Linked DNA regions of Homo sapiens: region 1 is linked to region 2. The links are contacts of gene promoters, found by promoter capture Hi-C in human tissues and cell types (Jung and others, 2019). All regions are on one chromosome and are shown on one strand. The core of a region is centred on a gene start or on the middle of the fragment in contact, and the rest is flanking DNA. Distances in the headings are between cores, read along the strand shown.

Region 1 (7,001 bases), core at 338-2,837, 340 kb after region 2:
GAGGGAGTCTCACTGTCGTCCAGGCTGGAGTGCAATGGCGGGATCTCACTCACGGCGACCTCCACCTCCCAGGTTCAAGCGATTCTCCTGCCTCAGCCTCCTGAGCAGCTGGGATTACAGACACCTGCTACCATACCCGGCTAATTTTTGTATTTTAAGTAGTGACGGGGTTTCACCATGTTGGTCAGGCTGGTCTCGAACTCCTAACCTCAAGTGATCTACCCACTTCGGCCTCCCAAAGGGCTAGGATTACAGGCGTGAGCCACCACGCCCGGCTTTTTTTTTTTTTTTTTTTTTTTTTTTTTTTGTGAGACAGTCTCACTCTGTAATCCAGACTGGATTGCAAGGGGCGTGATCTCGGCTCACTGCAATTTCTGCCTCCCGGGTCCAGGTTCAAGCAATTCTCCTGCCTCAGGCTCCCGAGTAGCTGGGATTAAAGGCGTGCGCCACCACACCCAGCTAATTTTTGTATTTTCAGTAGAGACCGGGTTTCACTATGTTGGCCAGGCTGGTCTCGAACTCCTGACCCTGAGTGATCCACCCGCCTTGGCCTCCCCAAAAGCTGGGATTACAGCCCTGAGCCACGGCGCCCGGCCTGTTTTTTTGTTGTTGTTGTTTTGTTTTTAATAAAAGAGGCGGGGTCTCACCCCGTTGCCCAGGTTGGTCCAGAACTCCCGGGCTCAGGCGACCCTCCCCTCTGCGGGCCAGGCCACCGCGCCCGCCGCCTCGGGTGTTTTCTTAGGAAAGCTGTGCGGTGGCTGGACTCAAAAACCCCGAACCTAAATCTGCCCGCAGACGGACACCAGCTTCCTCTTACCTCAAGCAAAAGGGCATTCAGGTCCTGATGGCTTCGCAGGAGGCGCACAGCTGATTCCTTTAATTTCTGTGCCCTTTCAGGATTATATTTTTCCCTCTTGACCCTTCCCGCTACGGAGAGAAGTCGGTTCGAAACCATCACAGCACAATTCACACACGGGGTCCCCGGCCCGACGCGCAGGTGGACGCCGCGGAGAAACCCACCAGCGACACCCTCCCGAAGAGGGGCCGGGGCTCCTCCCCAGGGCGCAGGTCTCGGGAAACTAACGGAGACGGCCCCACCGCGGACGCCGGGGAAGACGGCCCAGGAGGGCCCGAGGCAGGGGAGCCCGGGGACGGCTGGCGAGGGGCGGCCTCTGCGCTGAGGGGAGCCCCAGGCCGCGCACCCCAGGCCCGCCTGACAGGGCGGCCGGCGGGGGCGGCGTTCGGGAAAGAAGGGAGCGCCCCGCGGGCGGCGGCTGGGGGCGTCCGCCCAGGCGCAGGAGGGGCCGGGTCCGAGGCAGCCGCGCCGCCCCAGCCGGGCGCCCACCCCGCACAGCCCCCCGGGCGCGGCGTCCGGGGATCCGACCGGCGGAGGCTCTGGCGGGAAGGGATCGGGGAACCGGCGAAACCGTCCCGGGCCGGACGCCGCCCACTCCCGCGGCCTGCCGCGCCCACCTACCCAGCAGCTCGGCCCAGGCCCTCCGGCGGCCCCCTGGGTCCTGGCCCGAGGCGGAGTTCGGGACCCACGAGTCGGACATGGCCTTGGCGCCTACAGCCCCGGCGGCGGCTCCCTGCGCCCGAGCCCGCGCTGCCTTCCTATTGGCTGCGGCCAGGCGCGCACACCCGTTGGCTGGCGGCGGCCAGGCCACGCCCCTCAGGTCGAGGCCTTGCGTCGTGGCCATGTTGGTCCTGGGGGAGGCGCCTGCGCGCGGTGAGGTAGTTTTTGCGTTTGGCTTTGCCGCCGCGGTGTAGTCCGCGGGGGCGTCTCGCGCGGGCAGACTGCCGCCCCTCAAGCGTGGTTCCTGCCGGGAATGACTGGGGTTGGTCCTGAAGAGACCACCTGGCCAACCAAGCCGAGGCAGGCTCAGAGCGCCGCGGGGAGCGCAAAGCCGCGCGCGCCTCTGAGCTCCGGGCAGCCGCTGTTCCTCCCGGCGGCCGAACGGTCCGCGCGCAGGGCGGTGTTTCGGCAGCCGGAGACCGCGCGGTAGCCGCGCCTGTATTCCCAGCGCTTTGGGAGGCCGAGGCTGGAGGGTCGCTTGAGCCCAGGAATTCCAGACTAGCCTGGGCAACAGAGCGAGACCCCATCACTTTTGTTTCTTTTCTTTTTTTTTTTTTTCCTTTTTTTGAGACGGAGTCTCCCTCTGTCGCCCAGGCTGGAGTGCAGTGGCGCGATCTCGGCTCACTGCAACGTCTGCCTCCTGGGTTCAGGTGATTCTCCTGCCTCAGCCTCCCGAGTAGCTGGGATTGCAGGTGCGCGCCACCACGCCTGGATGATTTTTGTTATTTTTAGTAGAGACAGCGTTTCGCCATGTTGGCCCAGGCTAGTCTCGAACTCCGGACCTCAGGTGATCCGCCCGCCTCGGCCTCCCAAAGTGCTGGGATTACAGGCGTGAGCCACCGCACCCGGCTGAGACCCTATCTTTTAACCAGCCTGGGCGGCAGAGCGAGACTCTGTCTCAAAACAAAACCAAACATAAGAATTCGTAAAAGCGAGTGCCTAGGCGAAGCTAATGTGCCTCAAAGTCCTGGGTAAGTAGAGGCCCTGGAGACCCGTCCGCATCCTCTGGCAGTGGCCTTGGAACCACCGAAGGGATTCAGCCGAAGGGCCGCGTTCCCGGCAGGCGTCTTTATTGTGTTGATTACGTAGATGGCGTAGATGACGTAGATGACGTTCAGCACCACAAACGAAGAGCCGAGGCACAGAGTGGGGCCTTGGATTCATGAGATGGGGATGGAGCAGAAATGAGAATTCGGAGTCCATGAAACCCCCACAAAGACTCCTGCACGGCCCGACTCGGACACTTTGCAATCTGCTGGTTGAGGGGGATGGTGTGAACTCAGGGAACAGCCTGAGATCGCGCCGCTGCACTCCAGCCTGGGCAACAGAGCAAGACCCTGTTTCAAAAACAAAAAATAACACTAAGCAATTAACAGGACTAGACTCAGAGGTGATCGAGAAATTGAAACAGGCTGGAAATTTAAATTAACTGTGATTAATATGTGGAGGTCTCTTGTACGAAAGGTGAACAATATGCATGAGGAGGAAACTCATCAAATTATAAGAAAGGAAGAACGCTGATAACAGGTAATTTTTCTGATGGGGCAGCAGTAGGATCAACACAGCTGAGAAAAATAGGAATTACCCACGTTGGAAAATAAAGAAGAAAAAAAGTTTTTTTTTAAAAAAAGCATCCAAGAACTGTGGGAAAATATCAAATGATATCATATGCATGTAATAGGACTCCCAAAAGAAGAAGAAAGAACAAATCATAAAAAATGTTTGAAGAGAAAATTACCAATAATTTTCCCAAAATAATGAAAGACCTGAGCTCAGAGCACACACAAAACTTGATAAATATGAGCCCCTGCCTGACACATGCAGTGTATTCAAACTGTGGAAATCAGAGAGAAAACCATGAAGATGGCCGGAGGAAAAAGATACGTTAAATACAGTAACAAAGGTAAGAATTCCAGCCTGGGCAATATGGCAAGACCTCGTCTCTACAAAAAATACAAAATTTTTTTTTTGTATTTTTTGTATTGCCCAGTGTGGTGACACGAGCCTGTAGTCCTGTGGGCGGAGAATTACCCAGGTGCCGAGGCAAGAGACCGAAGGCACAAACTATTTCAGTATAATAAAATCGTTACAATAAGAACAGTCATAATACAAATTATGGAGATGATCATGGACAATTATCAATTATTATAAACATTAATCATTAGCTTTTAATATTACTGTTTGTTGCATTACTAATATAACCTAGGAATAACCGGTGGGTATAGGGTCAGGTGCTGAAAGGACATTGTGAGAAGTGAGTGGAAGGCAAGAGGTGAACCTTCTGTCATGCCCGCATAAGGGCCGCTTGAGGGCTCCTTGGTCAAGCGGTAACGCCAGTGTCTGGGAAGGCACCCGTTACTTAGCAGACCATGAAAGGGAGTCTCCTTTGCTTGGAGGAGTCAGGGAACACTCTGCTCCACCAGCTTCTTGTGGGAGGCTGGATGTTATCCAGGCCTGCACGCAGTCATCCGGAGGCCTAAACCCCTCCCTGTGGTGCTTCACTGGTCACGCTCCTTGTCCACTTTCATGTTCCTCCCTTACTTCTGGTTCGTCTTTGAAGTTCGTAGTAGATAGCGGTAGAAGAAATAGTGAAAGTCTTAAAGTCTTTGATCTTTCTTATAAGTGCAGAGAAGAAAATGCTGACGTATGCTGCCTTCTTTCTCTGCTTCACCTACCTGAAAGGGAAGGGCCCCCATCCTGTAATCACGTGACATGCTTCACCTTGTCAATCACTTAGAAGATTCACCTTCCTTACGCTGCCCCCTTGTCATGTATGCAATAGATATCAAAGAGCCTAGCCGTTCGGGGCCGCTACCAGTCTCCGCGTCTTGATGGTAGTGGTCCCCGGGGCCCAGCTGTTTTCTCTTTATTTCTTGGTCTTGTGTCTTTATTTATTACAATCTCTCTTCTCCGTACATGGGGAGAACACCCACTAAGCCCCATAGGGCTGGACCCTACATAGTCCCAGCTACTTGGGAGGCTGAGGTGAGAGGATCACTTGAGCCCAGGAGGCTGAGGCTGCAGGGAGCCACCATCACGCCACTGCACTCCAGCCTGGATGACAGAGTGACACCCTGTCTCAAAAAAAAAAAAAAGGCAGGGGTGCTGGGCACGGTGTCTCACACTTGTAATCCCAGCATTTTGGGGGGCCGAGGCCGGTGGATCACCTGAGGTCAGGAGTTTGAGACTAGCCTGGCCAACATGGTGAAATCTCATCTCTACTAAAAACACAAAAATTGGCCAGGTGTGGTGGCTCATGCCTGTAATCCCAGCACTTTGGGAGGCCAAGGCAGGCAGATCACCTGAGGTCAGGAGTTCAAGACCAGCCTGACGAACATGGAGAAACCCCGTCTCTACTAAAAATACAAAATCAGCCAGGTGTGGTGGTGCATGCCTGTAATCCCAGCTACTCGGGAGGCTGAGGCAGGAGAATCGCCTGAACCCAGGAGGCGAAGGTTGCAGTAAACCAAGATTGCGCCACTGCACTCCAGCCTGGGCAACTAGAGCAAAACTCTTGTCTTGGCCCGGCGCAGTGGCTCACGCCTGTAATCCCAGCACTTTGGGAGGCTGAGGCAGGCGGGTCACCTGAGAGCAGGAGTTCGAGACCAGCTTGGACAACATGGTGAAACCCCATCTCTACCAAAACTACAAAAATTAGCCGGGTGTGGTGGCAGGTGCATGTAATTCCAGCTACTCAGGAGGCTGAGGCGGGAGATTTGCTTGAACCCAGGAGGCGGAGCTTGCAGTGAGCTGAGATCGTGCCACTGCACTCCAGCCTGGGTGACAGAGCGACACTCCGTCTCAAAAAAAAGATAATTTTCTGTCTAGGACAAGTGGGGTGGCTCATGACTGTAATCCCAGCGCTTTGGGAGGCTGAGGTGGGTAGATCACCTGAGGTCAGGAGTTCGAATTTGGCCTGGCCAACATGGTGAAACCACATCTCTACTAAAAATACAAAATTAGCCGGGCGTGGTGACCAGTGCCTGTAATCGCAGCTACTTGGGAGGCTGAGGCTGGAGAATCACTTGAACCCAGGAGATGTAGGTTGCAGTGAGCCGAGATCATGCCAACTACAGCCTGGGCGACAGATTGAGACTCTGTCTCAAAAAAAAAAAAAAAAGCGTATGGTGGCGCGCGCCTGTAATCCCAGCACTTTGGGAGGCCGAGGTGGGCAGATTACCTGAAGTCAGGAGTTTGAGACCAGCGTCCCCAACATGGAGAAACCTGGTCTCTACTAAAAATACAAAAAATGAGCCGGCTGTGGTGGTGGGCACCTGTAATCCCAGCTTCTGGGGAGGCTGAGACAGGAGAATCGCTTCAGCCTGGGAGGCAAACCTTGCAGTGAACTGAGATCATGACACTGCACTCCAGCCTGGGCGACAAGAGCAAAACTCCCTCTCGAAAAGAAAAGAAAAGAAAAGAAAAGTTCATCTGTCCTTTGATCTGGCACATCTTTTATAATGGCCTGTTCTGCCTCTGCCTTGTCACTGAGCAGTGTGGGGAGAATTATGCCCATGAGTTGTGAGGAACTTCTGCATTCTTTTTTTTTTTTTTTTTTAAGATGGAGTCTCACTCTGTTGCCCAGGCTGGACTGCAGTGGCATGATCTTGGCTCACTGCAACCACTGCCTTCCAGGTTCAAGCGATTCTCCCGCCTCAGCCTCCCGAGTAGCTGGGATTACAGGTGCCTGCCACCACGCCTGTCTAATTTTTGTATTTTTAGTAGAGACAGGGTTTTGCCATGTTGGCCAGGCTGGTCTCAAACTCCTGACCTCAGGTGATCCGCCCGCCTCGGCCTCCCAAAGTGCTGGGATTACAGGCGTGCGCCACCGCGCCTGGCCTTTTTTTTTTTTGAGACAGGGTCTCACTCTGCCACTAAGGCTAGAGTGGCGCAATCTCGTCTCACTACAACCTCCGCCTCCGCCTCCCAGGCTCTTGGTCCTCCTACCTCAGCCTCCCAAAGTGCTGGGACGACAGGTGTGAGGCGCCACGTCCAGCCTAGTTCTCTCATCTTACAACGTTCAGGCCCCTGGGCGGGCACTGGAGGTGCTTTCACCATCTGAGACGATGTTTGCTGTCACGTGGGGAGGAGCTTGTCAACCCCATGTTCACACAGGAACTAGTGTCTAAGTGACACATCTCAGCATGTCCCATTCTTGTTTTTTTTTTTTTTGAGGCACAGAGTTTCGCTCTTGTCACCCAGCCTGGAGTGCAATGGCGAGATCATGGCTCACCGCAACCTCCACCTCCCGGGTTCAAGAGATTCTCCTGTCTCAGCTTCCCGAGCAGCTGGGATTATAGCCCTGCGCCACCATGCCTGACTAATTTTGTATTTTTAGTAGAGACAGGGTTTCTCCATGTTGGTCAGGCTGGTCTCAGACTCCCAACCCCCAACCTCAGGTGATCTACCCGCCTCAACCTCCCCA
Region 2 (6,568 bases), core at 675-3,174:
GGTCAAGGCTGCAATAAGTCAGGATCACACCACTGCCCTCCAGCCGAGGCAAGAAAGCAAGACCCTGCCTCAAAAAAAAAAAAGGATCATTGGGAACATGGAGGCCTGAAGGATGAGTAGGCATCAGTCAGGGAAAGGAGAGAAGGGAATTTGAGGCAGGAAGCAAAGACCTCAAGAACTCTGATGAGTCCATACTTACTACTGAAAATAACCAATCTCTGCCTAGAGAATAGAGGTGGAGAAAGAGGCAGACTGGACTAGAGTAGAATTCCACCAGGCCCTGACCAGCTGCTTCACTGACCACATCCATCATCTCATCTCACCTCATCCTCACCATAAGCCTGAGAGGCAGGCAGGACAGTGGGAAATGCAAGGCATAGGGCAAACAGCCTGATAGTACCAGGGCAAGCCCAAGTGTCCCATCCACCCAAACTGTGGCCACGAGTCTTGATTCTACTTCCGTTCTACAAGTGGGTCCGGGAATGCATGCAAATGGAGGAGAGAGAAGAGACGCACCGCTCTCCCACAGACTGATACGTCATGGAGGAGAGAGAGATGCAACCAATTCCCAGAGACTGACATGTCAGTATCCAGGGAATGAGGGTTCTGAAGAACACCCCAGGCCAGCAGACAGACCCTAGGTGAGCCTGGCAATCTCCCCACCCAGTGTCCATGCCTCCTTGTAGCCACCTTGCCCGGAGTGCAAGGCGGGTGGGACCTGTGACGTGCTTCTAACCCACAGAATGTGGTGAAAACAATGGAATGGCTTTCCCTTGACTGGGTTGCATTAGGTGGCAAAGTTGCTGCGCTGTCACTCCCATGACTACATTATGTTACGTAAGACTTAGTCTACTGAAGCAGAAGACTCTTTGCTGTTTTGAAGTGAGCTGCCAAGCTGCAAGGGGCCATGCGCCAAGCAAGTACAGGGGGCCTCTAAGAGTCAAGAGGAGACCTCAAGGGACAGTCAACAAGAAAACAAAGACTTGCGTCCCACAATCAGCAAGAGATAACTTCTGCCACAACCTGAAAGAGCTCAAAAGCACACCATCCCCCACTCGAGCCTCTGATAAGATCACAGTCCCACCCAACACCTAGATTGCAACCGGATGAAACCCTGAGCAGAGGATCCCACTAAGCTGTGCCCAGACTTCCAACCCACAGAAACTGTGAGATAATAAATGTGTTGTGTGTCAATTTGTTACACAGCAGTAGAAAATAAATACACTGGCCTGGCATGGTGACTCATGCCTGTAATCCCAGCACTATGGGAGGCCAAGGTGGAAGGAATGACTGAGCCCAGGACCTTGAGACCAGCCTGGGCAACATGGTGAGACCCTGTCTCTACCTTATGTAAAAAAAAAAAAAAAAATTTAAGACCAGAAATATACCCCCACACATCATCCCATTTGAAAGAAAAGCTTTCATCCATGCTACTTCCTTCCATGCACAAATAATGACTGGTTGCCAGAAAGGCAGCACAGGTCACTCTTCAGAACTCCAAATGCTCTTTCCAACCTACCACCAACACACATGATGCCAACCCCACTGAGACCAAGGCAGCCTCCCAAGCTCAGAGAGACTCCGAGACCAAGTTCTTCATAACTGAACTCACAGCTTCAATTATTTCATACTCAATCACTATATTCCAAGTTTTTTATAATTAACAAAATGCTGCCTTCAAGGTTACATATGCCACCAACGTCAATCCTCAGAACACTGCATAACATCCCAAAACTTACACATGTATCATCCAAATAAAAAAATAAAATGTAAGTTAAATCTTCAAACGCAAATTTGTGCTGATGATCTAGAAGGAAAGCTGGGCCCTGCCTGGCCGGGAGCTGCCTCCTTTCTTCCCCAGCTTTGTGCAGGGCCACCCCTGCCCTCTCCTCACCCCTGCTGGTGCAGTGAGATGAGGACCTCAAGTAAGGGGGTGGCAGCCGGGACTTCCACAATTCAGGGCAATCTCTGGCATCTGTTGTTCAGTCAGTAATTTTCCAACAGACCCTCTTGACTGTGACGGGCAGAGAAAGGCTGGGGAGCTCTTGGGTCGTCAGTGGGTTGGAGAGATGGACTAACTCACAGGTAGGAAAAAAGGCAATGACCACTCCACTGGAGAACAAAGCCCACAGCATTTAAGCTGGAGGGACAAGAAAATCCAATCATTCTGATGATGCAGCTCCTGAGGCTCCGTGGCCAAGCTGGGATGTGAAAGAAGACAATTCCATTCCCCTCCCTCATCACCAGGTGACTGCTGCCTCCCAGAGAGCTCCCTCATGAAAGCCCCGTAACCCACCACGCTGCACTGTTTCTATAGCAACCAGAAAGAAAATATAAAGCAAGCAGTTTCACATGAAAATTATTCTCTATTAAAATGAAATATTGCAGTCAGGAAAAGAATTTTGATAAAGAACTAGGTAGAAGACATCGGTAACATTAATGCTAATTATTTATTCACTACCCACACAAAAGATAATTTTTCCTAAAATTTTAAGATAATCTTTTATCGTTCACACTGGAAGTCTGAAAACAGTACTACAGCAAGTCAACAACAAACAATTACAATCAAAATTCTGTTCTATGCTGTGATATCTCCACGAAACACAAAATGCTCTCCCAAGTTTAAAGAGGGATAAGGAACACGAAAACAACTGACCCCGGCCAGGTGCGGGGGCTCACACCTGGAATCCCAGCATTTTGGGAAGCCAAGGTGGGTGGATCAATTGAGGTGAGGAGTTCAAGACCAGCCTGGCCAACATGGTGAAACCCTGTCTCTACTAAAAAAATTTAAAAATTAACCAGGCGTGGTGGTGGGCACCTGTAGTCCCAGCTACTTGGGAGGCTGAGGCAGATGAAGTGCTTGAAACCGGGAGGTGGAGGTTGCAGGGAGCCAAGATCACGCCACTGCACTCCAGCCTGAGTGATAGAGCGAGACTGTGTCTCAAAAAAAAAAAAAAAGAAAAAGAAAACAACTGAGCCAAACAATGGAGAAAACACAGAAAATATGCAAATTATGAGAACAAAAAAAATTCAGCCAATGCCTTCTCACATCAAAATACCAAAACTACAAAGCCAATTTCAGGTATACCAACCCATTCTCAAAAGATGAAATCAAATTCAAATGAACCTATCTTTGCCTATCTTTGACATCCCTAAAGCCACCTGTGACTTGTCACAGCCTTAATAACCCACCACAATCGGGATGGTCATATGTCCCCTGAAGTCACAGAAACAGAACTCTCAACTAGCAGACTGTTAACGTGTCCTATTATCCTCAGGTTCTTGGGTTATTCGTAGAATAGCAAAGCAAACTACCTGCTTTGTAACGATATCATTTACACATCAACATCAGGAATAAATACAAACCAAAACCTGGCCAAACCAGGAGAGGTGCCTGGACCAGGACAGGCAGACCCAACGCCTACGCTTGCTTCTAACCAGCCTGGGCAGGTGGGCAGGTTACAACACACTCCTGACTCAGCCAGGTGGGGCTCTGCAGCCTGGCAGTTACAGACACTGAGACCTCAAGCCGCAGGCACTAGCCTGCCAAAAAAGACTTCTCCTCCTTGGTCTCACAGCCAACAGTTTGGACACATATCCTAGAGGTATACTACACTTCCAGCAAAGAGATGGGGGCCCAAGGCCCACCCCAAACCACTTCATCCTCCCCTCACCACACTCTGAATCTGGTTCTCTCAGAGGCATGATGAGAGCTGGGGTGGAGAGGTGTGGAAAAGACACAGTCCTGACTTCAGAGTCCCTCTGGGCAGACTCATCTCACAGTATCGCGTAACACACAACACACGTTTATACACGGGCACAGACTGGAACACATGATATGGTAACAATCTATAATACGAGGAGCTCGTTAAGCTCAGAGATGAAAGGGGAAGTGAGTGGAAGACCACACCGTGAGCATCTATTAATAAAAGCAGACGGAGTAAGAAACAGAGAAAAAGGTTCTCCTTTGGTCTTGTCTTTCTTTGTCTACTATTTAAAACACGAGAGAATTAGCTAGTTAAATTTATATCTCAGAAAACAGGCACAATAGAAGTATAAAAGCCATCACCTTTAAGTCATTTCCCCTTTTTTTTTTTTTTTGGAGACAGAGTCTCACTCTGGTGCCCAAGCTGGAGTGCAGTGGCGCCATCTCGGCTCACTGCAACCTCCACCTCCCATGTTCAAGCGATTCTCCTGCCTCAGCCTCCTCAGTAGCTGGGATGACAGGCATGGGCCACCACGCGTAATTTCTTTTTTTTCTCTCTGAGATGGCGTCTCACTCTGTCACCCAGGCTGGAGTGCAGTGGTGCGATTCTGGCTCACTGCAACCTCCACCTCCTGGGTTCAACCGATTCTCCTGCCTCACCCTCCCGAGTAGCTGAGATTACAGGCGCCTGCCACCACGCCCAGCTAATTTTTTGTATTTTTAGAAGAGACAGGGTTTCACCATGTGGCCCAGGCTGGTCGCGAACTCCTGACCTCAGGTGATCCACCCGCTTCAGCCTCCCAAAGTGCTGGGATTACAGGTGTGAGCCACTGGGCCCGGCAGTATTTAGCATTTTAATAATAAAAATATTGGAGAGGCCGGGCGCGGTGGCTCATGCCTGTAATCCCAGCACTTTGGGAGGCTGAGCAGGTACATCACCTGAGGTCAGGAGTTCAAGACCAGCCTGGCCAACATGGTGAAACCCCAACTCTACTAAAAATTCAAAAATCAGCCAGGTGTGGTGGCAGGCAGGAGAACTGCTTGAATGCAGGAGAACTGCTTGAACGCAGGAGGCGAAGGTTTCAGTGAGCCAAGATCACGCCACTGCACTCCAGTCTGGGGACAGAGCAAGACTCCATCTCAAAAATAATAACAAAAAATTAAAAAATCAGACCTAATATTTGTTTCTTGGTATGTATTCTTTCTATTCCAATTTATTATGGCTTCAAAAGAAGCCCAAAAAATCAAAAAAGAAAAATAAAACAATGGCTTAATGAGAGGAGCGCTTAATAAACTGAAATTTTGTTTAACACTTTCAGGAACAGTTCCCAACGTTGTTGTCAGGGCACAGTGACAGTGGCCCAGCTGCCTCGCCAGCAGCACACACAGGCCTCTGGGGCCAGCAGAGAAACACTCCCAGTGCCTTCAAGAACCCCATTTTCACATCCAGGGTCCAGGAAACAGACATGCACGTCGGACTATCACCCTAGTGAGAAAGAAGGAAAGCCACATTGGGGTTGGTTTTTTTTTTAACGTCCTTCAAATCTATGGAAGACATCCTCTTCTACACAACTCATAGGAAAAAAGATCCCTCTGAGGTTAAGCAACCCGACGCCTCCACACCACAACTGAACATCCTCCTACAGCCCCCACCCGGTAACTCATTACTTTCCAAAGAGAATGGGTCTCAAGGTCTCAAGGACCCACTGCCCTCCAAAAAAGCAACCTGGACATCCTGCTGACAACTGAGCATCATACAAATGTGTCCCTTTCGTCCCCGCTGCCCTCCAACAGTCACCCCCCAGAGCGAAGCTGCCTGTACAGGCCACGTCCTCTCCTCCAGCAGCCGGCTACGCGCAGCTCTCCGGCACAGCCATCACCTGCACCACTAAAGCGGGTGGCAGTTTCTGCCCGTGACATTTCTCATTAGGACTTTCCACAATTCTTGAGGCTTAATGCAAATTCCTTATTCCCATGACTAACATCAAAGAACCACACCTCCAAAGACTGACACTGGGATTATTCCTAAATTTCTCAAGGATGAGGTAATCTGGAGGTTAAACATGCCTGAACTGAGCTGTCCTCACTTGGGCCCTCCAGACCTTTCACTTGTTGGGTGTGTAAATAATGACCCAACACTTTTTCTTTTCTTTTTTGAGATGTTCTCACTCTGTCACCGGGGCTAGAGACCAGTGGCATGATCTCAGCTCACTGCAACCTCAACCTTCGGGCCTCAAGACCCACACCTTTGGCAGCTGTGTAACTAGTGGGTCCTCCTGTTCCTGTGGACAGCAGTCCCATCAACAGCAAGTCACGCCACCACCTACCCCACAACCCAACCCAGTCCCTGAAGATTCAGGTGACAGTTAACTGACGTCAAGAGAGTGCAACATCACTAGAAAAACATTAATGACGGCCAGACGCAGTGGCGAGACTCCACTCAAACAAAAACAAAAAAAGGAAAAAAAAAACACTAATTACAAGGAAAGTTTGCCTCCTAGATAAAACACATGTGACCTGATATAAAAAATATCTAGGCCTGGCGCAGTGGCTCACACCTGCAATCCCAGCACTTAAGGAGGCCGAGGCAGGCGGATCATCTGAGGTCGGGAGTTTGAGACCAGCCTGACCAACACGGAGAAACCCCATGTCTACTAAAAATACAAAAAAATTAGCTGGGCTTGGTAGCACATGCCTGTAATCCCAGCTATTCTGGAGGCTGAGGCAAGAGAATCATTTGAACCCAGGAGGCGGAGGTTGCAGTGAGCTGAGATCACACCACTGCACTCCAGCCTGGGCAACAGAGCGAAACTCCGCCCCCAAAAAAAATTAAATTAAATTTTAAAAAGGCCAGACGCAGTG

What was found. Contacts are between HindIII fragments. The study calls those that stand out against the background at their distance.
Region 1: a contact is called between the fragment with the promoter of FANCA here and a fragment that was not itself captured in region 2, in 1 of the 25 tissues and cell types used here (hippocampus).

The regions. Positions count from the first base shown.
Region 1 is chr16:89,815,060-89,822,060 of GRCh38, forward strand. FANCA (FA complementation group A) reads right to left here and starts at 1,588. Exons shown (of 43, transcript NM_000135.4): 1 at 1,478-1,588; 2 at 818-927. The coding sequence starts at 1,556. RefSeq lists silencers at 1,092-1,141, 1,372-1,661 and enhancers at 1,522-1,816, 2,202-2,251. The HindIII fragment of the contact is 15,845 bases long and covers 1-7,001 here.
Region 2 is chr16:89,473,109-89,479,676 of GRCh38, forward strand. The region is part of intron 1 of ANKRD11 (ankyrin repeat domain containing 11); the gene reads right to left. Among named protein-coding and RNA genes, the nearest start is that of ANKRD11, 14 kb to the right of the region's middle. The HindIII fragment of the contact is 6,489 bases long and covers 1-5,169 here.